Regions from separate parts of the Homo sapiens genome. Here region 2 is linked to region 1. The links are contacts of gene promoters, found by promoter capture Hi-C in blood cells and fetal thymus (Javierre and others, 2016). All regions are on one chromosome and are shown on one strand. Each heading gives the region's core, a stretch centred on a gene start or on the middle of the fragment in contact. The rest is flanking DNA. Distances are from core to core; before and after follow the strand shown. Region 1 holds the start of KRTAP10-7 (keratin associated protein 10-7). Region 2 holds the start of TSPEAR-AS1 (TSPEAR antisense RNA 1).

Region 1 (6,221 bases), core at 1,322-3,821:
AACAGGCTGCTCAACCTTTTGTTCTTTAATTCCTAGTACCCCCGCCCCCTCTCTTTCTTCTCCTTTTCTTCTTTCTGACTTTACTACATGCCCAGGCATGCCGCAACATCACTAGCATTATCAGCACCAGCTCGCATTCCGTTCTGTATTTAGGAAAAGACTGGCTCTCTAGTTTCCCGTAGATGACCCCTTCCTCCTCTCCCGTCTCTCCCATTATGCATCCATTTTATCTAAGAAAGTTTAAATGTTTAGCCAATCGGGTCTAGTTTAAATTGTGCGGCGCAATCCCAGCCAATGGGGAAAGGACACAGGGGCAGGATCACGTTAGGAATAAAAACTTCTACTCTCCTTTGTTCTGTGTGCTCTCGTGGCAACCAGCCATATGGGAGACACCCTCCTGCACAGACATACATTTGCTTTGCTGAGAAATCCTTTGTCTCAGTGCTCGTTTTTCCTTACGACTCTGAGCCTTATTTCTAACATTATTGATTATACATTGATTATACATAGTTTTTACTATCTCTTCCGTGGTCACTTTAGAGATTATAGCACACATTCTTAGATTATTCAAGTGTAACATATGTCAGCACTTCCGCCGCTTCCAAAACAATGCTGAAACCTTAGAAAACTTTCACTCCATTTATCCTTCTCACCTTTTATTGTTAATGTCATCATGCATTACTTTTCTACTTCTAGTTTAGACCCCACAAGAGATTATAAATATAATAATATTACCCTTTCAGATCCTCCTGGTTCCTTCCTGCATTTTTATCCTTCCGTCATCCTGCCTAAAAAAATCCCCTTTCATAGTTACTGTAGAGTAGGTCTGCTCGTGTTCAGTTTGCTCAGTTGTTATCCAGAATTGTTTTGTTTCATATTTCACCTTTGAACAATGTTCTTCCTGGTCTAGAATTCTAGGTTTGCAGTGATTTTCTTTCAGCTCTTTAAAGATGTCATTCTATTACCTTTAGTTTCTTCAACAGCTCTTTTAGGAGAGCTTTAAAGGAATCATTTTTAAAACATTTTGTTCAGCTTTTCAAGTTGTTCTCAGCAGGAGTATATGTCTGACATAGCTACTTTGTCCCATATGGAAGCAGAGGCCCCCATTTTCTCTCTCTCTCTCTCTCTCTCTCTCTCTCTCTCTCTCCTTCCATCCCATAGGACCAGATCCTGTACCTCTGGAGGGACCAGGCCATGCTCAAATTTATATTATTTTTATAGTTCAAAATATACAGAAAGACAATTCATCCCACCGTGTAACTGAATTTCTAGCCCTCTGAGGCCTTTTGTACTTTTCCTAAATCCCCTAGGAGTTAAGAGGCCTGGACTGGGAAACACAGATAGAGACACAGGACACCCTGAGCCTCTGAGACTTGCCTGGGCATCAAACCCCACCAGAAGGGCCCCTGGAGCCCTCTCCCCTGGGTAGGGGCCACTTCTCAGGGCCGCATGCATGCTGGGCTATGGCTGGTCATCACTGACATCACCAGGCACCAAGCAGCCCACCTCCCTCCCTGGTGGGGTCCACAGTCAGGGTTACTACCCCTTCACTTTCACATTCTCAGCACCTGGTGCAATTTCCAGCATGTGGGAGGACTCACTGCATCATGAATAAATGAATGCTTGAGAAGTAAAAGTATCGGATACAATTGGAAACATTTAGCAGAAACAACCAAAAAGATGTGGTGGCCAATTGGATATTATTTGCAGAAGAAATGGAGACTTAGATCAGATGTCTAGCTGGGGTGACCAAGGACTTAGCTGGCAATCAAGAAAACACACTGCAAGCGAAAGCAGTGCTTGCTGCTTTTCACACGGCAGTGCTGTTGAGAGTGGCTGTGCTTTTTGCGGAGGAGGTGTTCTGGGTTAGACTTACAGGTTTGCAGTGCTTGGGATAAAACCAAATGGAAATGGGGGCCCCAAACAGGGATCTGGGGCCTCCCTAAGTGCCCAGATGGAAGAGGGGGTGCACGGCCCCCCAGGAACTACTGTGAACCTGACGGGAAATGGCTCACACCACTGTCCACCCTTTCCCGTTTGCCACTTGCTCTAAAGCCCTTGGGGGGACTTTATGCACCAGAGAGAGTGTGGGGAGTCACTTCTAGGAATGTTCCACCCTCATGCCATCATTGACAGGGGCTTCTCTAGCCTGGCATTCCAGAAGCCACAGCCACCCAGACAAGCAGAGTCCCCTGGCGATGGCCCACAGGCGCTGGGATTAGGATGGATGGATCTCTCCTGCAGCCAGCACAGGCCCCTGGGACACTCTATTTGCAGACATTACACCCTGTCTACTTCAATATTATGCTCTGGAGCCAAAGGTAGGTGAGGGTGCGTCAACGGAACCAAATATAGACTCAGGACTTTACAAACTGAACGGCATCTCATAGGACTAAACATGAAACTCGCACTAATAAGCGTTCTCTAGGTTTTAAACACAAACAAGGAAGGGGCAGGAGTTGTTGACACTCCAGCTGGGACAACAGACCAGGGAGACATATAAAAGCCAACATCCCTGAGCACCTAACACACGGACTCACTCACTCATTCACTCACTCACCCACTCACTCCCATCTCCTCCAGTTCAATCCCCAGCATGGCTGCGTCCACTATGTCTGTCTGCTCCAGCGACCTGAGCTACGGCAGCCGCGTCTGCCTTCCTGGTTCCTGTGACTCTTGCTCCGACTCCTGGCAGGTGGACGACTGCCCAGAGAGCTGCTGCGAGCCCCCCTGCTGCGCCCCGGCCCCCTGCCTGAGCCTGGTCTGCACCCCAGTGAGCTATGTGTCCAGCCCCTGCTGCCGAGTGACCTGTGAGCCCAGCCCCTGCCAATCAGGCTGCACCAGCTCCTGCACGCCCTCGTGCTGCCAGCAGTCTAGCTGCCAGCTGGCTTGCTGTGCCTCCTCCCCCTGCCAGCAGGCCTGCTGCGTGCCCGTCTGCTGCAAGACTGTCTGCTGCAAGCCTGTGTACTGTGTGCCTGTCTGCAGTGGGGATTCTTCATGCTGCCAGCAGTCTAGCTGCCAGTCAGCTTGCTGCACCTCCTCCCCCTGCCAGCAGGCCTGCTGTGTGCCCATCTGCTGCAAGCCTGTCTGCTCTGGGATTTCCTCTTCGTGCTGCCAGCAGTCTAGCTGTGTGAGCTGTGTGTCCAGTCCCTGCTGCCAGGCGGTCTGTGAGCCCAGCCCCTGCCAATCAGGCTGCATCAGCTCCTGCACGCCCTCGTGCTGCCAGCAGTCTAGCTGCAAGCCGGCTTGCTGCACCTCCTCCCCTTGCCAGCAGGCCTGCTGTGTGCCTGTCTGCTGCAAGCCCGTCTGCTGTGTGCCCACCTGCTCTGATGATTCCGGTTCATGCTGCCAGCCAGCTTGCTGCACCTCCTCCCAAAGCCAGCAGGGCTGCTGCGTGCCCGTCTGCTGTAAGCCTGTGTGCTGTGTGCCCGTCTGCTCTGGGGCTTCCACTTCATGCTGCCAGCAGTCTAGCTGCCAGCCGGCTTGCTGCACCACCTCCTGCTGCAGACCCTCCTCCTCCGTGTCCCTCCTCTGCCGCCCCGTGTGCAGGCCCGCCTGCTGCGTGCCCGTCCCCTCCTGCTGCGCCCCCACCTCCTCCTGCCAGGCCAGCTGCTGCCGCCCAGCCTCCTGTGTGTCTCTCCTTTGCCGCCCCGCATGCTCCCGCCCGGCCTGCTGTGGCCCCACCTCAACCCAGAAGTCCAGCTGCTGAGTGATCTCCTTAAGATCATCCAAAGCCTGAGTGCTCACTGCCACCTGCACCCCTGGATTCTTTACCCTTGACGGCTCTCCACATCCCGCTCCTAAGCCCTGCAGTGGACGTCAGTGGTCAGCTGGCCATCCAGTGTGCGCTTCTCCTCCTAGAAGCAGCTCAGCTGTTTCTCCAAGTCTTGACTTTCCCCCAATTACCCAGCCCTGCTTCCCCAGCAACAGGTGGGCAGTGACCCCAGCAAGGCCAGCGGGTGCTCCCAGGCCATAGCCCGGTGTGGGGAGAAATGAGGGTAGACAGGTACCAACTGGGTTTCTCGTCACTGTCCCAGCTCAGTGGCGAGCCCTGCTCCTCCCCTGCTGTGGGCCTGGGCCTCTTTCTCTGTCTTCCCTGACCACGGGAGCAGGTCAGACCCTTCTAATAAACTCCTTTCCTAAAAAGTACAACTGGAATTCATTCTTGTTGTTCACAACCAAAGACCCCTGCCTGATGCCCCCCACCCGCGGGTGGTCCTGGGCTGCTCCCACGCCACGAGGTCCCTGTCCTTCCCAGGCGTCCTGGCAGCCCTGCACCAGCCTCACCACACGGATGTCCGAGGGGTAGGCAGGACTGAGGGATGGGAGAGGTGAGGGATCCAACAGCAGCGCCTGCCCTGGGTGGGGCTGCTTTGGGGCCTCCCCAGAAACTGGGTTGTGTCCAGCCCCTGGCTCCAGAAAGGAAACCCCATGGCCGTGTGCAGAATGGGTCCACACGGTGGGCGGGGACGGCCATCCTGAGGCCCGCTGGCCGGGCTGGCCCTTGGCTGGCGTCTGGGAACTGGGATTTCCGAGGGGCTCCCCCCGGCCCCGCCTCACTGGGCCTGAGCTGTTTGTACCATGTGGTTTAGGCCGAACACCCACATCCCTGCTGGGAGTCTGGAATTCTGGCGTAGCCCAGGCAGAAGCTGCTCACGTGACCAGTCCCCGGGTACATCACCGGGCAGGGCATCCCCAACATCGCACACGCAGCGTCCCAGCTGCTTGCAGAGGAGTGAGGCGCGTCCTGCGTGACCCCCACCCCAGGAGAGGCCTCCAAAGCTGAGCCTGGTGCCCCTGGACTCGGCCCCAGGAACCTTTCCCTTGGTTGATTTTGCTCAGTGTCCTCCCTGTGGGAAATCACAGCTGTGAATACCACAACCTGTGTGGCCTGTGTCCTCCTGGAGAATCGCCGTCTTGGGGACCCTGACACAGACCCCAAGCTGCCCTTCCCAAGCAATGACAATGCTGTCCTAGGACAGTGCTGGGTGCATTTCTGGTAGTGCTTCCTTTGACTCCTGCTCCAGAGGGGGTGGAGACAGAGAAGGAGGCTGGGTGAGGCCAGGCCATCGTAGGTTTCATGAGGAGCAGAGCCGACCTGCGCCTGCAACGAGCTGTCCCTCCCCTGTGGTGGCCACAGAGGCTGTGGCCTGAAACTCTGGCGTGGGGCTGGAGCACCAGCTGGCAAGGAATAAGCCCCCACATGTCCCACCTGGCACTCCTCTGCCCCTACCCCGGCCCCTGTGCAGAAGAAATGAGCCAGGCTTCTCTCTGGCACCAGGGCTACACCCTAAGTCAGCATCCCAGGCTTTGCGTCACTGGCTCCCCTCTGGTTCTCCAGGAGGCACCAAGGGGACCCTGTGGTGAGTCCCCCAACTACAGGCACCTGAATCCCACAGACGGCAAGATGGAGGGGCCTTGCTCAGAGAAGCACGTCCTCCTCTGCGGATCCCAGACTCGGCTCCTCCCCTAGGCATGGCCCCAGCAAGCATCCAGGCATGTGAGCCTCTGGGGAAACACGCCCCCCACGCCCCGGGTGTGAACTTCAGGGGAGGTGTGCTGTGGGGCAGAAACATCAAGTTCCCTTCCAAGGGCAACAGGTGGAACTTCAGAACCTCCTGCAAGAGGAAGGGCGTGCCAGGGTGGCTGAGCAGAGAGAAGCAGCCTCCTCCAAGGGGCCATTCTCAGCCGCACCACAGAAGCTGACGGTGGCTGAAACTGCCCTTTGTCACCTGGACATTCACCATTTGCCCTGGTCAACAATGCCTACCGCCATCCCTGGTGAAAGAACCAATATCTCACAAAAAATGCAAAAGGCACAAATCATTAGAGAAAATACTGACAATCTTGAATGCAGCAAAATGCACACAAAAGCATAAGCACACAATCAAAGTTTCCACCAATCCCATCCCAGAGAAGCCACCTGTGGGGCATCACGGGGAGACTGCGGGCTCACTGTCTCCCTCCTGGGCACGTGGGCTGGCAGGTTCCAGCCACCTGCAGTTAGTTAGGGCCACATGATGAGTTTCTATTGGTTAAACGTGCATGGAGAGATGTCTGCCACTTCCACGCCACAGGTTGTGGGAGCCCTGCTGCCTCTCTTCCTTGCCGGGCTATCTTGGAGGCTCACGTGCCAGAGAGTGGGTCCACAAGGTAGGGGCGCAGCATGCTTGGATGGCAATGTGAGGAGTGGGGAAGGCCTTGTGGGCTTAAGCCATTGA
Region 2 (6,295 bases), core at 2,407-4,906, 95 kb before region 1:
GTCCCCTGAGAATCTTTTTAAGAAAAGCTATTAGAACTGATTGGTTAGGGGGCGAGAAAATGATTGTCATGATGAGCAGCTGCAAATGAAAGTTAAAAAGCCAACCCCATTCGTTAAACGTACGATACTTGGAAAACTCCTGGAAATAAATGAGAACACCACAGTGTCTATGAGAGAAAAATTAAATATCAACAACTCCCATGTTAGGATGTCCACACGCCGCATCCCTGACAGAATCCAAAGGCAGAAGCACCAGCACTCGTGGGTTGTGGCTACACCCGGGGCAGGGCCCCAGCTCAGATCCCACACGGGTGCAGCCAGCGCCGGGCCATCCACTGGGCCCAGCCAATCTCGGAAATGACACCTGACTTGGGACTCGCTGTGAGCCGGTGGCACCTGCGAGAGAAGGTGAGCCCCCGGGGGGAAGCAAGGCTCTGGGAGGAGGCCGGCCTCGGTGAGCCCTTGGGGGGAAGCAAGGCTCTGGGAGGAGGCCGGCCTCGGTGAGCCCTCGGGGAAGTAAGGCGCTGGGAGGAAGCTGGCCTCAGTGAGCCCTCGGGGAAGCAAGGCTCTGGGAGGAAGCTGGCCTCGGTGAGCCCACAGTGGGGAAGCAAGGTGCTGGGAGGAAGCCGGCCTCGGTGAGCCCTCGGGGGGAAGCAAGGCTCTGGGAGGAAGCTGGCCTCGGTGAGCCCTCAGGGGGAAGCAAGACTCTGGGAGGAGGCCGGCCTCGGTGAGTCCTCGGGGGGAAGCAAGGCTCTGGGAGGAGGCCGGCCTCGGTGAGCCCTTGGGTGGAAGCCGGCCTTGGTGAGCCCACAGGGGGGAAGCAAGGCGCTGGGAGGAGGCCGGCCTTGGTGAGCCCACGGGGGGAAGCAGTGTGCTGGGAGGAAGCTGGCCTCGGTGAGCCCTCGGGGGGAAGCAAGGCTCTGGGAGGAGGCCGGCCTTGGTGAGCCCTCGGGGGGAAGCAAGGCTCTGGGAGGAAGCCGGCCTCGGTGAGCCCTCGGCGGGAAGCAAGGCTCTGGGAGGAGGCCGGAGTTGGTGAGCCCTCGGGGGGAAGCAAGGCTCTGGGAGGAAGCCGGCCTCGGTGAGCCCTCGGGGGGAAGAAAGGCTCTGGGAGGAGGCCGGCCTTGGTGAGCCCTTGGGGGGAAGCCGGCCTTGGTGAGCCCACAGTGGGGAAGCAATGTGCTGGGAGGAAGCTGGCCTCGGTGAGCCCTCAGGGGGAAGCAAGGCGCTGGGAGGAGGCCGGCCTTGGTGAGCCCTTGGGGGGAAGCCGGCCTTGGTGAGCCCACAGCGGGGAAGCAAGGCTCTGGGAGGAAGCCGGCCTCGGTGAGCCCTCGGCGGGAAGCAAGGCTCTGGGAGGAGGCCGGAGTTGGTGAGCCCTCGGGGGGAAGCAAGGCTCTGGGAGGAAGCTGGCCTCGGTGAGCCCTCGGGGGGAAGCAAGGCGCTGGGAGGAGGCCGGCCTTGGTGAGCCCTTGGGGGGAAGCCGGCCTTGGTGAGCCCACAGGGGGGAAGCAATGTGCTGGGAGGAAGCTGGCCTCGGTGAGCCCTCGGCGGGAAGCAAGGCTCTGGGAGGAGGCCGGAGTTGGTGAGCCCTCGGCGGGGAAGCAAGGCTCTGGGAGGAAGCCGGCCTCGGTGAGCCCTCAGCAGGAAGCAAGGCTCTGGGAGGAAGTTGGCCTCGGTGAGCCCTTGGGGGGAAGCTGGCCTTGGTGAGCCCACAGTGGGGAAGCAAGGCTCTGGGAGGAAGCCGGCCTCAGTGAGCCCACAGTGGGGAAGCAAGTCTCTTGGAGGAGGCCGGCCTTGGTGAGCCCACAGTGGGGAAGCAAGACTCTGGGAGGAAGCCGGCCTCGGTGAGCCCTCGGGGGGTAGCTGGCCTCGGTGAGCCCTCAGGGGGAAGCAGGGCTCTGGGAGGAAGCCGGCCTCGGTGAGCCCTTAGGGGGAAGCAAGGCACTGGGAGGAAGCTGGCCTCGGTGAGCCCTCGGGGGAAGCAAGTCTCTTGGAGGAAGCTGGCCTCGGTGAGCCCTCGGGGGAAGCAAGGCTCTGGGAGGAAGCTGGCCTCAGTGAGCCCACAGTGGGGAAGCAAGGCTCTTGGAGGAGGCCGGCCTCGGTGAGCCCACAGTGGGGAAGCAAGGCTCTGGGAGGAGGCCGGCCTCGGTGAGCCCACAGTGGGGAAGCAAGTCTCTTGGAGGAGGCCGGCCTCGGTGAGCCCACAGTGGGGAAGCAAGTCTCTTGGAGGAGGCCGGCCTCGGTGAGCCCACAGTGGGGAAGCAAGTCTCTTGGAGGAGGCCGGCCTCGGTGAGCCCACAGTGGGGAAGCAAGTCTCTTGGAGGAGGCCGGCCTCGGTGAGCCCACAGTGGGGAAGCAAGGCTCTGGGAGGAGGCCGGCCTCGGCAGCTCATTACCTGTAAATAATACTGTTCACCGAGAAGGTACGCCCATCGAAGGAGTTGGCCACCACCAGGAAATAATCTTCTCCCACCGAGAAAAACTCCCAGTCCAGAGCACTGCAGGAACAAGTGGGTGGATATTAGGACACAACAGACATCGCCAGGGAACTGGGGGATTGGCCAGAAGCTACCTCCAAAATTTATAGAGGAGGAGCCGGGGCCAAAGTGGGGAGTGATTTTCTCACAGTCACATATGTGTTGGTCTATTCCAGGAAAATGTAAATTAGTTGTTTGCTTAAAAAAAATTTCAAATTTTATTTTATTTTATTTTTGAGATGGAGTCTCATTCTGTCACCCAGGCTGGAGTGCAGTGGCGAGATCTCGGCTCACGGCAACCTCTGCCTCTCGGATTCAAGCGATTCTCCTGCCTCAGCCTCCCGAGTAGCTGGGATTACAAGTGTGCGGCACCACGCCCGGCTAATTTTTGTATTTGTAGTACAGACAGGGTTTCACCATGTTGTCCAGGCTGGTCTTGAACTCCTGACCTCAAGTGATCTGCCCACCTCAGCCTCCCAAAGTGCTGGGATTACAGGCATGAGCCACCATGCCTGGCCTCAAATTTTAAATTATGGTAAAATACATATAACATAACATTTCCCACCTCAACCATCTTTAGGTGCACAGATCAGGGGCATTAAGCACATTCATACTGCTGTGTGGCCGCCCCCACCATCCACCTCCAGAACGCCTTCATCCTGCAAAACCGAAGCTCTGCACCCAGTAAACATCACCCCCTCCCCCCTCCCCCCCCCCCCCCCCCCAGCCCCGGCACCCACCACGCCACTTTCTGTCTCTATGAATTTGACCACTCTAGGGACCTCATATGAATGGAATCGCACGGTATTTGTCCTTTGTGTCTGCCTTAGCTGAGACTCCAGTGACTCAAGGTTCATCCGTGTCGCACTGTGTGTCAGAATCGCCTTCCTTTCTAAGGCCGAGTAACGCTCCGCTGTGTGAATGGACACGTTGTGTTTGTCCATCCGCTGACAGACACTTGGGGAATTTCCTCCATGTGGCTACTGTGAATGCTGCTGCTATGAACACCGGGGTACAAAAGTCCACTTTTAAGAGGTTGAAACAATCAGAGAAAAAGTCTCAGGCTGCTGGTGCCTGCTGGAGGCAGGAGCTTGGTTTCCCGCTCTGGACACTGTGCAGAAATGGCGTCACAGTGCTGTGGCCTCTGTGCCTGGTTTCTTCTCTCAGCATTGTGTCTTCAGCTGTGAGGTCAGCGGCCGTGAGGTCACTCCAGGAGGTGCCTACAGGACCTGCAGGACCTGCTCGTTCACAGATGTTCTCCTAGAAGCAGAAGCTGTTTCTTGTTGCAAACAAATTTGCTGTGTCCTGTCTTAGGAGTCTCACCTGAATTTACCAAGGATGCATCTGTGCTTGGGGATGGCTCGGTTTGAGGGGTCTGAGGAGCGGCTCCCCTGGATCCTTTCCTCCCCAGGAGCCCACCTGCCGAGCTGTCAGCGTCAGCCCCACATCTCAAGATGAGGAAATGGAGGTCGAAGCCATGCACACGCAGGCGTCCTGCTGACATGCAGGCCAGGCGGGTGCCTCTGTATTCAGCAGCCTCAGGGCTGTGGCCAGTTCAGGCAGCAGAGGGGCCTCATCCCGGTGCTTCCCTGCAGGCAGTTGTGGGGCCGGCCTGCAGCAGGGGCTCAGACAGGGCCTTGGGAGAGGGAGGGATCACAGAGGTGTCCAGTGACAGGCAGGGCGGGCAGAGCCCATGGGGCCTTGGGCTCCTCACTCCTTCGGTCAGTCAGGGTGACATCTGGAGCCACCTCCATTAATGGTGGGTTATGATTTGGTTCCCATGCAGCCCGTGCCAGCTCGCTGGGAGGAGGACGAGGACGCCTGTGATCACATGCTCTGGTCTGGAGGCACGGCCGCGGGCCCCGGGTCAGTGTGAATCCGCGGGGTTACTCCTCAGTCGGATCTGAGCTCTGAAACCCAGACCCGAGGAAGACAAGCGGCCACGTCGGATGTACCAGTGGTGGAAGATCCTGTCCGGCTGCACCGAGGCTCACATCAGAAGCCGGCTTCGGTTTCACCACAAAATAAGGCATCTAGTGCCCGATTCTGCCTCCAAAGCAGCCCTGGGTCACACTCGCTGTAGGACAGATGTTATTCTTCAGAATCACGCCCTCTGGCAAATGCCCATCATCGGACAAATGGACGGATGAAGTGTGACTCAGCCATGAGAAGGGGGATGCTCTGAGCCGCGCGGCCACACCACCAACCCGGAGGACACGGTGCTGCGAGAAAAAGCCAGGTACAGAGGCCACGGCTCTACGAGTCCATTTCTGTGCAGTGTCCAGAACGGGAAATCACAGAGACAGGAAGTGGGCCCGGGGGTGCCCAGTTGGGAGGGAGGGGCTGGAAAAGGGTGTGGGGGGCTCCTTGTGAGGGGATGAGAATGTTCCAGAGTTGTCTGCAGCCATGGCTGCACATATCTGTGGATTTAATAGAACTACTGAATCTAAAAAGCAAACACAAGCGACCATTTGAAGGCAGTCAGAGCCAAGGTTACACACAGAAGCCACAAAACCCCTCAGCGCCCTTGAATAGGGTTTTGGACTTGGTGAGGCCACATCACGTCTCCGGGAAGTGTAGGGAATTCCCCATGCTGGGTAGAAGGGCTAGGAGTTTGACTTGTGTGTGCTGTTTTGATGGTAATTATTAAACATTACCTTAATTAATTGGTAAGTACTTTCTGTGTTTCATAATTTAGTTCATAAACTGTCCATACCACTGTCCAGTGGTGACAGGGCCATAAGTCGCGAGTGTGTAGCTGTGTTCTGTCAGTTCCCGCAGCTTTCAAATCCCGAGGCGTCTGCCTCATCTGTTTCTAGACTGGGCATCATGTCCATGACTAATTTTTAATCACAATTCATTCTCCAACTTGTCTTATTCTAAATGTTGTTCTAAAAAGCCTAATGTTTGTTTTGTTCTCGGCGTTGACATTGGATGGCGTGGATTCGTGCTGGGGACACACAACTGCCACCGCCGCCCCGTGCCTGTTTCTCCTGCCATGGCTGCCAGGCCACGCAGGGGCCACGGAGCCCACAGGCAGGTCACCCCGGAATCCCCAGTGCCCCCAGCAGACACCGCCGCTGGCTCTTTTTCTTTATTATGAGTGTTCTTTTTTTAATTTTTAAAAATCATATAAGTAAGATATTAGTAAGTTAACATTGTCATCCTTTGTAAAGCCAGGAGTTCAGAAGTAACAGGGCAAATAGGGAAAGTCCTTCCTGGCCTGTCTACATACCCCTGCAGCCCTCCCGGTCCTAGGGTGACTGCTGACGGAGAGGGCACTCCCTTCCCGAGTCTTCTCTGCACGTCCGTGGGCACGCACAGCTGAGCGGCACACAGCAGCCCGGCTCGCTCCTCCGCACTGGGGACACAAGATTTCACTGCACCTCACCCAGCCCTTTCCACAGAGCAGTTCATCTTGGAGACTCTTCCCCTCGAAGGGTCTAAAGGTATGTGTTGTTGTGTGTCTCAAGCTGAGATTAGAGCCCAGTGCCCAGGAGGGGCAGGTGAATTGTTACCGAATGAAATAGGAGTGCATGAAACCCGAGGAAACCTGGGAAAGCCGCCTGCTCCATCCCAGGATGGGAATGGGCCAGATTCCAGCTCCAAGCTTGACCCATGGCCCCTGGCTCTGGGATCTGGGTAATACGGATTCGATTGCAGGTTTATTCACAGACCGGAATTCCACCCCAGAGGACGCCCCACACTGGTCAGGATGGTTGTGGATTCTCAGTGCCCACTGTCCAAAATGTGGTGCCCACGCAACCTCCTGTGGCTCCACGGAGCGTGTCGGTCTGGAACCATCACTTTCTCGTACATACA

Evidence for each region. The method cuts DNA at HindIII sites, captures the fragments that hold promoters and counts their contacts. A CHiCAGO score of 5 or more calls a contact.
Region 2: the fragment with the promoter of TSPEAR-AS1 here is called in contact with the fragment with the promoter of KRTAP10-7 in region 1 in 8 of 17 cell types (naive CD8 T cells, total CD4 T cells, non-activated CD4 T cells and 5 more); the score reaches 13.7 in naive CD8 T cells.

What each region holds. Positions count from the first base shown.
Region 1 is chr21:44,598,026-44,604,246 of GRCh38, forward strand. It overlaps KRTAP10-7 (keratin associated protein 10-7), which reads left to right and starts at 2,572. Exons shown (of 1, transcript NM_198689.3): 1 at 2,572-4,149. The coding sequence starts at 2,597. The coding sequence ends at 3,709. The region is part of intron 1 of TSPEAR (thrombospondin type laminin G domain and EAR repeats); the gene reads right to left. RefSeq lists enhancers at 939-1,695, 2,456-3,205, 3,206-3,965, 4,064-4,920, 4,921-5,775. The HindIII fragment of the contact is 9,535 bases long and covers 1-6,221 here.
Region 2 is chr21:44,502,388-44,508,682 of GRCh38, forward strand. TSPEAR-AS1 (TSPEAR antisense RNA 1) reads left to right here and starts at 3,657. Exons shown (of 7, transcript NR_103707.1): 1 at 3,657-3,941; 2 at 4,260-4,712; 3 at 5,650-5,922. It overlaps TSPEAR (thrombospondin type laminin G domain and EAR repeats), which reads right to left. Exons shown (of 12, transcript NM_144991.3): 11 at 2,393-2,494. RefSeq lists enhancers at 775-1,294, 6,000-6,295. The HindIII fragment of the contact is 6,455 bases long and covers 1-6,081 here.